Regions from separate parts of the Homo sapiens genome. Here all the other regions are linked to region 1. Evidence: promoter capture Hi-C in 16 types of primary human blood cells and fetal thymus (Javierre and others, 2016). All regions are on one chromosome and are shown on one strand. The core of a region is centred on a gene start or on the middle of the fragment in contact, and the rest is flanking DNA. Distances in the headings are between cores, read along the strand shown. Region 1 holds the start of MORC3 (MORC family CW-type zinc finger 3). Region 2 overlaps SON (SON DNA and RNA binding protein). Region 3 overlaps SON (SON DNA and RNA binding protein).

Region 1 (3,231 bases), core at 238-2,737:
GGCTGGAGTGCAGTGGTGTGATCTTGGCTCACCGCAACCTCCACCTCCTGGGTTCAAGTGATTCTCCTGCCTCAGCCTCTCCAGTAGCTGGGATTACGGGCATGTGCCACCACACCCGGCTAATTTTGTATTTTTAGTAGAGATGGGGTTTCGCCATGTTGGTCAGGCTGGTCTCAAACACCCGACCTCAAGTGATCTGCCCGCCTTAGCCTCCCAAGGTGCTGGGATTACAGGTGTGAGCCACCACGCCCTGCCAGCTAATTCAATTTTTTTTTTGTAAAGATGAGGTCTCCTCGTGTTGCCCAGGCTCGTCTCGAACTCCTGGGTTCAAGAGACCCTCGCAATGTAGCCTCTCAAAGTGCTGAGATTACAGACATGAGCCACTGCACCCAGCCAATTTCTCTTTCTAAAAATAATTAATTTTTTTGAGACAGTCTCACTCTGTCGCCCAGGCTGGAGTACAGTGGCGCGATCTGGGCTCACTGCAACCTCCTTGTCCTGGGTTCACCCACTTCTCCTGCCTCAGCCCCCCGAGTAGCTGGGATTACAGGCGCCCACTAATATGCCCAGCTAATTTTTGTATTTTTAGTAGAGATGGGGTTTCACCATGTTGGCCAGGCTGGTCTTGAACCCCTATCAAGTGAACCCCCAACCTCGACCTCCCAATGTGTTGGGATTATAGGCATGAGCCACTGCACCGGCCTTATGCCTTTAGGACTCTTATTTATTTATTTTGAGACGGAGTTTCACTCTTGTTGCCCAGGGTGGAGTGCAATGGCGCAATCTCGGCTCATTGCAACCTCCGCCTCCTGGGTTCAAGCATTCTCCTGCTTCAGCCTTCCGAGTAGCTGGGATTACAGGCATGTACCACCACGCCCGGCTAATTTTGTATTTTTAGTAGAGATGGGATTTCTCCATGTTGGTCAGGCTGGTCTCGAACTCCCGAAGTCAGGTGATCCGCCCGCCCACCTCGGCCTCCCAAAGTGCTGGGATTACAAGCGTGAGCTACCGCGCCCGGCCCCAGAACTCTTTTTTTTTTTTTTAAATCATGAGTTAGATTGATAGTTTTCAGGGCAAATCCAAACAGTCTACATTAATTTCCGTCTTTATTTCGTTAAGGTTTCACATGGACACTGGTGGATATGGAATGGCTTTTTTCTGCGCAATTCACATCCGACCAGGTCAAGTGACTGGAGTTCACCGGTCTCGGGTATACCGCATCTCGCGCCAGGCTTCAAACTCTAGATCCCCGAGTCTCGAGCTCCAGCTGGGTGTCGAGACGGGTACGGGCCGGCCGCGCCTCGCGCATGCGCCCTAGGCCCGCAGGGCCCCGCGCTGGAAGCTCAGCTCCCACTGTACCCTGCTTTAACCAGTCAGGCAATTCATCTTCCCCAAGCTCCCAATTCGGCATTGCCTGGAGGCGGAAGTGGGTGGGAGGGGCCAGACGTGCGCCCCTCCCCGGAAGTGGGCGGTACCCATAGGGCTCCACAGTCGTTCCGCCACCTCCCAGTCGGGTTGCGGCGGAGGCCGTTCCTGGCTTTGTAGCTCGCTCAAGATGGCGGCGCAGCCACCCCGCGGGATACGCCTCAGCGCGGTGAGCAGCCGCGAGGGGTGGAGCGGGCCGTGTCCCAGGAGGGCGGGCGGGCAAGCGAAGGGGGGCCGGCAGTGGGCGGTGGCGGCTTGTGGGGCCGACGCGGCGGCGGGGGCTGCGGCGGGGCCCGGGGAGGGGGCGGCCATCTCGCTCCCGTCGGCGGAACAGCTCGGCTGCGGGCCGGGCTGCGTTCCGTCGCCTCTGCATTGTGTTTCTGTTTTGCTTCGGGGCGGGCCAGGGTCGCGGCTCCTCCTCCCAGCTCCCTCCTAGTCTCCCAGCAGCTGTCGTCCGCGGGCGAGGCCTCGGCGGGAGATCGGTCTGCTCTCGGGGCCGCGGGGCCCCTGACCCTCTTCTGTCCGCTGGGCGTCGTGGTGGGAGGGAGCGGGTTCCGCGTCCAGAAACGCCGGCGGCCTCGACGTCCCGGGGGCGGGGGGACGGGGCTGCGGGCCTGCCTGCGGGCGAGTGGAGTCAGGATGAGTGTGCCTGATGCCTGTCAGTGCCTGCAGCTTCCTTGGCAGTGGAAGCCTTGGGGCCCAGACCCTAGATCGCTGAGCTCGAGCTCTCCTCTTTATCCCGCGTTGCGTCTGTTTTGGGGCGTTTCGAGTTCTTGGAAACCCTGTGAACATTTCTTGTATCTTAAATCGTAGGGAGCGGTCACACAAGATAACTTGAAATCTCACGTCCAGGAAATGTGGGCGTGGCTTCCCCACCTGATTATCCTAAAAAACTTTTCTACCTTGTGAGCGCAGTTGATGTTATGCTGAAATGTTCCTCTTTTCTGGAGGTTGTTGACTTTTGCCAAAGAATGACTGCCCTAGTGCCACTAATTTTAACATTCGAATGGGTAGTGACTCCTTGGGGTACAAACACGTAGTGAATAATTGGTGCATTGCTCTGGGACTTTCATTCGTTTAGGCAGATTCTAACACCTGGTTTTGACGGACTTTAAATTTTTTCTAGTCCGATATTTGTGAAATGATATTTGCTTTTACTTGCGTTTCCTTGACTGTTTGTGTTGTTGAGCTCTTCGCATGTATTAGTCTTTGTGGTTTTTTGTTTTGTTTTTTTGAATTGCCTATTCATATCCTTTGACCATTTTCTGTTTTTCTTTTGGGAGGATCTTTATTGATTTGTAAGAGTTCTTTACGTATTCTGGATAAAGGTCCATCCTTTCGTTATGTAACTAGCTTATTGAGTGAGCTAGGCTTTAGTAGTTTGAAAATAGAGGACAATTTTATTCTTTTTTTCTTTTTTTTTTTTTTAACCACTGAGTGTAAACATTAATTATTCCCCACTTGTGTGAATCTGGGTTGACTAACGCTTTCCCATTAGCTTAAGGTATTGTAAAGTCTGGCCTTACCTAGTTTAAAATCTCTATTCTCTCTCCCTCCCTTTTCCCCCTCTCTTTCCCCTATCTCCTTTCCCCACTTCTCTCTCCTTCCTCTCTCGAGGTTGAGTCTTGTTCAGGCCCAGAAACCTGTAGTGGAGAAACGGAGTGAGTTGATTTCCTGTTTCTGTCCTTTGATTCTCTTCTCCCTTCCCGCCCCCAGGCCCTTGTAGACTCTGGCTCTTCAAGATTGAGGGGAGAAAGGAAGCAGAGATAATGGTCAGTGTTTAGAGACCAGCATTGTTAGCGGGCA
Region 2 (3,231 bases), core at 337-2,836, 2.8 Mb before region 1:
AAAAAGGTAAAACATCTGACAGTCAGTACAACATATGATTATTGTAATTAATTGGATTTTTTTATTAATGGTATGATAAAATATTAATGAATTTCGATAACTTTTCATGTCAAGTGGAAGGAATGAAGGCCAGCTGAATGGTGAAACAAATACACCCATTGAAGGAAACCAGGCGGGTGATGCAGCTGCCTCTGCCAGGAGTCTACCAAATGAAGAAATAGTGCAGAAGATAGAGGAAGTACTTTCTGGGGTCTTAGATACAGAACTACGATATAAGCCAGGTAAGTTGGAGATAATTAACTGTCTCAAAAATTTTCTTTTAAGATTTTTTTGAAATTTGAAGGTTAATGTTAGTTTTTGACTTCAGTATTTAAGATATTTATTAAATTAAAAACTTTAGGCTGGGTGCGATGGCTCACGCCTGTAATCCCAGCACTTTGGGAGGCTGAGGTGGGTGGATCACCTGAGGTCAGGAGTTCCAGACCAACCTGGTCAACATGGAGAAACCCCCATCTCTACTGAAAATACAAAAATTAGCCGGGTGTGGTGGTGGGTGCCTGTAATCCCAGCTACTTGGGAAGCTGAGGCAGGAGAATCGCATGAACCCAGGAGGCGAATGTTGCAGTGCGCTGAGATTGCGCCATTGCACTCCAGCCTGGGCGACAAGAATGAAACTCCATCTCAAAAAAAAATTTTTTTTTCAGTAAATTTAAGCTTTTGTTTAATTGATTTAATGAAGACTTTCTTGTTTAAATTTTCCTTCCATACTTCCACTGGAAAACAAACATTGATGTACTTGTTTACTCTGCTGGTAGAATATAATTTTTATTTTTGACTTAGTTTCAGTTTATTTGATTCAGTTTCTTTTTCTTTTCTTTTCTTTTTTCTTTTTTTTGAGACAGTTTCACTCTTTTTGCCCAGCCTGGAGTGCAATGGCGTGATCTCGGCTCACCGCAACCTCCGCCTCCCAGGTTCAAGTGATTCTCCTGCCTCAGCCTCCCAAGTAGCTGGGATTACAGGCGCCTGCCACCATGCCCGGCTAATTTTTTTTTGTATTTTTAGTAGAAACGGGGTTTCACCGTGTTGGCCAGGGTGGTCTGGTCTCGATCTCTTGACCTCATGATCCGCACACCTTGGCCTCCCAAAGTGCTGGGATTACAGGCGTGAGCCACCGCGCCCGGCTTGATTAAGTTTCTTAGTATCAGGAATTTGAGTATGGATTTTTATTAAACAGTTGTGTAAAAATACCCATCCCACTTAAACTGCAGTGGATGGAGAGGAATCATTGCTTGAATATTTAGCGTTTTTGGAATTGATTAATTGATGTTTAGAAATGAAGGATTTAGCCACAAAAATAACAGTCATTACCTTGATTTAGTTCTGGAATCAAGTTTGTAATATGGTTGGTTTGTCCTCTTTTTTGGGGGGAACTTTAGCTGTGCTTAGATTCATGACTCTCAAACAGACTTGCTTAGATTCATGGCTCTAACAACCTTCATTGAAGTATGACTTATCTAACATTTTGTATTATGAAACAAACAATTAATAGAAAATGGTAAGTTTTGCTTTGGCCTATGTCAAGTGTTGATTTATTTTCTTCTGTAGTCTTTTTTTTTTTTTTTTTTTTTTTTTTTGAGACGGAGTCTCGCTCTGACGCCCAGGCTGGAGTGCAGTGGGGTGATCTCAGCTGACTGCAAGCTCCGCCTCCCGGGTTCACGCCATTGTCCTGCCTCAGCCTCCGGAGTAGCTGGGACTACAGGCGCACACCACCACGCCCGGCTAATTTTTTGTATTTTTTTTTTTTTTAGTAGAGACGGGGTTTTACCGTGTTAGCCAGGATGGTCTTGATCTCCTGGCCTCGTGATCCACACGTCTTGGCCTCCCAAAGTGCTGGGATTACAGGCGTGAGCCACAGTGCCCGGCCTTTTTTCTGTAGTCTTAATGGCTCAGATTTCTGATGAGCTTTTTTGGGGGTCCCTAAGATTTATCTAATTTGATATTGGCATTAGAGTAAATAAATCCCATCTGGTTGTTAAAGTTGAATACTCCCATCTCTTTAGGGTATGTAAATTCAAACCTTCTTAAGTTGTAAATTAAGGACTAAGAATTTCCTCTCTAAAATCAGTATTCTTTTCTAAAATAGAAACATTTGAAAAGTTATTTATTAGTGGTTTTAGAATAGTATTGGGGGAAAATGTTATCTCTTTAGGGTATGTAAATTCAAACTTTCTTAAGTTATAAGGACTAAGAATTTCCTCTCTAAAATCAGTATCCTTTTCTAAAACAGAAACATTTAAAAAGTTATTTTAGTGGTTTCAGAATAGTATTGGGGGAAAATATTATTTTTATTAGAATGTAACGTAGGCATGATAAGGTAAAATTTGAGTTCTCTATGAATATTTTATATTTGTTATTCAGATATTTTTATACTCTGTAGAAGCAATCACTAACCTTTGTTGAAAGCTTATTCTGTGCCAGGCATTATTTGATGTACTTTGCATGTTTTAACTCACTTTATCCTCTAACTCTAGAAGACACAAGTGTGTCAGTAATTTGGCCAAGACCATTAACCTAGTAAGTGATGAACTGATTGAGGATTCAAAAGTGGCAGTCTGTTCCAGAGCCAGTGCCATGTTGCTTCCTGTATAAACAAGGGTTAATAATCGCAAAAATTATATTATGTGGGTATTTTTAATAGAAACTGTAGCAACTAATAACATGAAATATATTCAGTGACAAAAGTAGTTTAAAAGTAATTTTGCTATGATTTGAGAGCTGGAGGGAATAATTATTTTAATAGAATTTAGTGAAACATGTCTTAATGTAATTCAAAGTAAGTTTTGGTGTTTAATAATTTATTTTTAACCCAGGCATTAGTTGTGGAAAGAATTATCAGAAAAGTAGTAGTCTCCAGGTTAACTGTTTTATGAAAAATAGTTTATTTGGTAACTTTTAATTTAACGTGAGGTGTTATACTGTGGGGTTTTTTTTTTTTTTTGAGACAGAGTCTTGCTCTGTTGCCTAGGCTGGAGTACAGTGGTGCAATTTCAGCTCACTGAAACCTCGACCTACTGGGTTCAAGTGATCCGCCTCAGCCTCCCAAATAGCTGGGACTACAGGTGCGCGTCACCATGCCTGGCTAATTTTTGTATTTTTAGTAGAGATGGGGTTTCACCATGCTGGCCAGGCTGGTTTTGAACTCCTGACCTCATGATCCACCTGCCTTGGCCT
Region 3 (3,231 bases), core at 208-2,707, 2.7 Mb before region 1:
CACTTAAAGGAAAAGATTCATTTGTATAGAATTACTGAAGAATATTTGATGCTAGTATCAACTAAAAAAGAAACTTTTGAAAATTAAAAATGGGCCACAACATGTAGAAGTCATTAGGCAGCTGAAAATTTAGGATGTATGATCCATGTTAAATATCACAAATATTGTCTACTCATTAAATGTTTAGTTGTGTTTAGAAAACCTGTCAAACGATCATTTTGGCTCTTCTTTAGTATAGTCCAGCATCTGCCTTATGTGTTAAAAAACACATGGAATACCAACATCCTCCGTGTTCTTTTTAGTTTGTTGCAGTGTATTTTTAGATTACAAAAAAAGCAAAGTTTTATCAGTAGTCTCATTAATCAGTAAAACATTTAAAGTAGTTCGTTTAAAAGAAATTTTATTTCTAGAATGGAATGATTTGGATGTGACCTGATAAATACAGTTTGTTATTGTGGTCTCATTAAATTAATCAGCTTTTTCACACTGGGGTAAAGAAACAGATGATGATACTAGGGAATGGAAACAAAATTGGAAACCTGGGTTATTTGGGGATTTATATTGTACTCTGCACAGTTGCCCTTTTTTTTAGGCGTGTTCCCTGGAAAAGAGGGACGGATGAACCTGGAAGTAAGTAAAAGACATTCTAGGTGTGTAGCATCAAGGCAGTTAATATCCAAGCATCAGCTTTCTCTTTATACATCTACACTGCATGGCCTGCACCAAATAAGGAACTGAACCAGGGGTATGTTTTTACCTCCACAGCTGCCTCCTTCCATCAGAGCACCTTGATGAACTTAATGTCTAGTCACACGTCATTGGCATGTTTTCTCCCCAGCATTTAATTACAAAGCTGGGAAACAAAAGATGATAGATACAGTTTTACTACTGCATACAAACATTTCTTTTTTACATTCAGTATTAACTTATCAATATAGGAGATGTGCATACTATTTCCTGAGCTACTGAAGTTTTTTTACTCTCTCTGTTGATAAGTTAATGACTTTTGCTATATTATATATTTATATATATATATATATATATATTTGGTAAGAGAACATAAAAACCTAAAATTTAGTAACAAGGGGAAAATAAAGCATGATTTGGAGATATGTTTCAAATTTTTAAAAAATGACCATAAAGATCAACAGTACAACTTAATACTGTTTGCTATATGTACATGGATGCCCTTTAATAAGAGGCATTGAATATTTCTTAACCTGTAAAAATAACTGTTGACCATGCTAATGTATATATACTTGTGCATCTTAGGACATTAAGTGGTTTGCTGCTTTGATGGAAATTATGGTTCAGTGGGTTGGATACAAGAGAGATGACTGTTCACAGAATAACCTGTGAACTTTCACCCCTCTGTATGGAAACTTGTTTCAGGGCCAAATCCTTGTAGCTGTCTTCTTGCCCCGGTCAGTGCCAGCCGTACTATTCACAACACTGCTGCTACCGAGGCCTAGGTATGTAAACATTTAAGGAGTTTTTTAAAAGTCTTTTAACATCAAGCTAGGTTTTAAAAGAATTCAAATTCATTTTGGCATACTTACAGGATATTTTATGTGATTGTTTTCTATTTGTTACTGTGTAAATTTCAAGAGTTTTTTTTTTTTTTTCTGCTTTAGGGATTTTCTAAGTAAAATATTTATACTTGCTTTATAGTAGAATGGGGAAGAAAACTTTGGATGACAACAGTATGCTTCTTCAGTGTCTAAACTATTTCTAAGTGATTTCTGGGCTTTATTCATAAACTAGGTACACCTGGGACAATTAATATCATTGATTGTTTTAACATTGCCTTCTTTTTATTTTGCAAGCTAAGAAGAGATACCAGTGAACCTAAATAGTGGACGAAAACAGGAGTGTTCTAATTTTTTTTTTTTGAGGGGGGCACGAGGGCTACTGTTTCAAAACTGCCATTTACTTGTCTTATTTGACTTCCAAAATACTATTACGTTAATGTGCAAATAATCAGAACATACACACTACAGTATGTATAAAGTATAGAGGAATTTACATTTAATTGCTATAACAGATCTAGAAGTAAAGTAAGATTCCTCTTTTTAGAAAGTAAACAATGAATCTGTCACCAAGTTCTAACTGTAAAATGGGGACATTTTACCTTTCTTTCTTTGGATAGGATCAGTTCTTAAGAGCAGCCCCGGTAACTGGAGGAATGGGAGCCGTTTTGATGAGAAAAATGGGCTGGAGAGAAGGAGAAGGATTAGGAAAAAACAAAGAAGGCAATAAGGAACCCATCCTAGTTGATTTTAAGACAGACCGAAAAGGTAACAAGTTCTTTTTTGGAATGTTTATTAACGTCTCCTTTAACATTACCTTTAATATATCCTTTTGAACCCAGTGATACTGAACTGAAGGCACTTCTTGTATATATACAGGTATTTGTCAGAAAAAACATTAACCCCTTTTGGGGTTCACAGAGCAGCTTATTTTTATATAACTATGGATAGAGACACCAGTTTGAACTTTTAAAAGGCACCTTTTGTTATGCTAGTTGCTAAATATGGAAATGTGTATATATCTAATTTTATTATTACACCTCCAAATTCAACTGGATTTCATGTTTAGAAAACAGGATTTCCATTTTATTTTCTCTTGACAAGGAACCATCCTTTTTTCTAGAGTTTAGTTTATTTTTTGTTAGATATTTTAGCACATCTTCATTATTTCCTATTACAATACTGGTTTAGTCTAGATTTCATAAACCCTGTTTGCTTTTTTCTTCCAAGCTCAGTAGTTAAGTTGGGTTAGAGTATAGTAGACCAGCTGCTGACAATAATGTTACTTCTTCCTGTTGCCTTGTGTTAAGGCATCTTGGAACTGTTAGCATTGACTGTATTTTCCTTTTACCTTCAGATACCTGGGCAGGGCAGCACTGTGTCTTCTATGTAGCTTGTATGTAGTTGCTAAGTATTTAATCATTCCCACAGATGATAGCTAATTGGCGTCTTTTAAATAACTTCTTCCCTTGGAATAATGTAAGTGGAATCATGAGAGGCTTGCCAGCTCAGTATGATTTTTGTATAGCTTGTTTAAACCTCATTTATAAAAGCTGACAAATGTAAAACTGGGATTTATTTTCATCTTTGTAATCAAACAGTAAGTTGAAGCTAACTTCAATAGTTAAACTGTCTTAATGAATTTGGAAATGAACTAGCTCTGCACCAAATACTTTGATGTTAAGTATTGTACAATTTCAGG

The links. Contacts are between HindIII fragments. The CHiCAGO score rates a contact against its expected background, and 5 or more counts as called.
Region 2: a fragment that was not itself captured here is called in contact with the fragment with the promoter of MORC3 in region 1 in 1 of 17 cell types (erythroblasts); the score reaches 5.5 in erythroblasts.
Region 3: a fragment that was not itself captured here is called in contact with the fragment with the promoter of MORC3 in region 1 in 1 of 17 cell types (erythroblasts); the score reaches 6.0 in erythroblasts.

Annotation. Positions count from the first base shown.
Region 1 is chr21:36,318,710-36,321,940 of GRCh38, forward strand. It overlaps MORC3 (MORC family CW-type zinc finger 3), which reads left to right and starts at 1,488. Exons shown (of 17, transcript NM_015358.3): 1 at 1,488-1,594. The coding sequence starts at 1,556. RefSeq lists a silencer at 1,612-2,071. The HindIII fragment of the contact is 27,571 bases long and covers 1-3,231 here.
Region 2 is chr21:33,546,099-33,549,329 of GRCh38, forward strand. SON (SON DNA and RNA binding protein) reads left to right here. Exons shown (of 12, transcript NM_138927.4): 2 at 115-281. Among named protein-coding and RNA genes, the nearest start is that of MIR6501, 2.9 kb to the right of the region's middle. The HindIII fragment of the contact is 1,749 bases long and covers 713-2,461 here.
Region 3 is chr21:33,571,159-33,574,389 of GRCh38, forward strand. It overlaps SON (SON DNA and RNA binding protein), which reads left to right. Exons shown (of 12, transcript NM_138927.4): 9 at 2,150-2,297. Among named protein-coding and RNA genes, the nearest start is that of DONSON, 16 kb to the right of the region's middle. The HindIII fragment of the contact is 3,711 bases long and covers 1-3,231 here.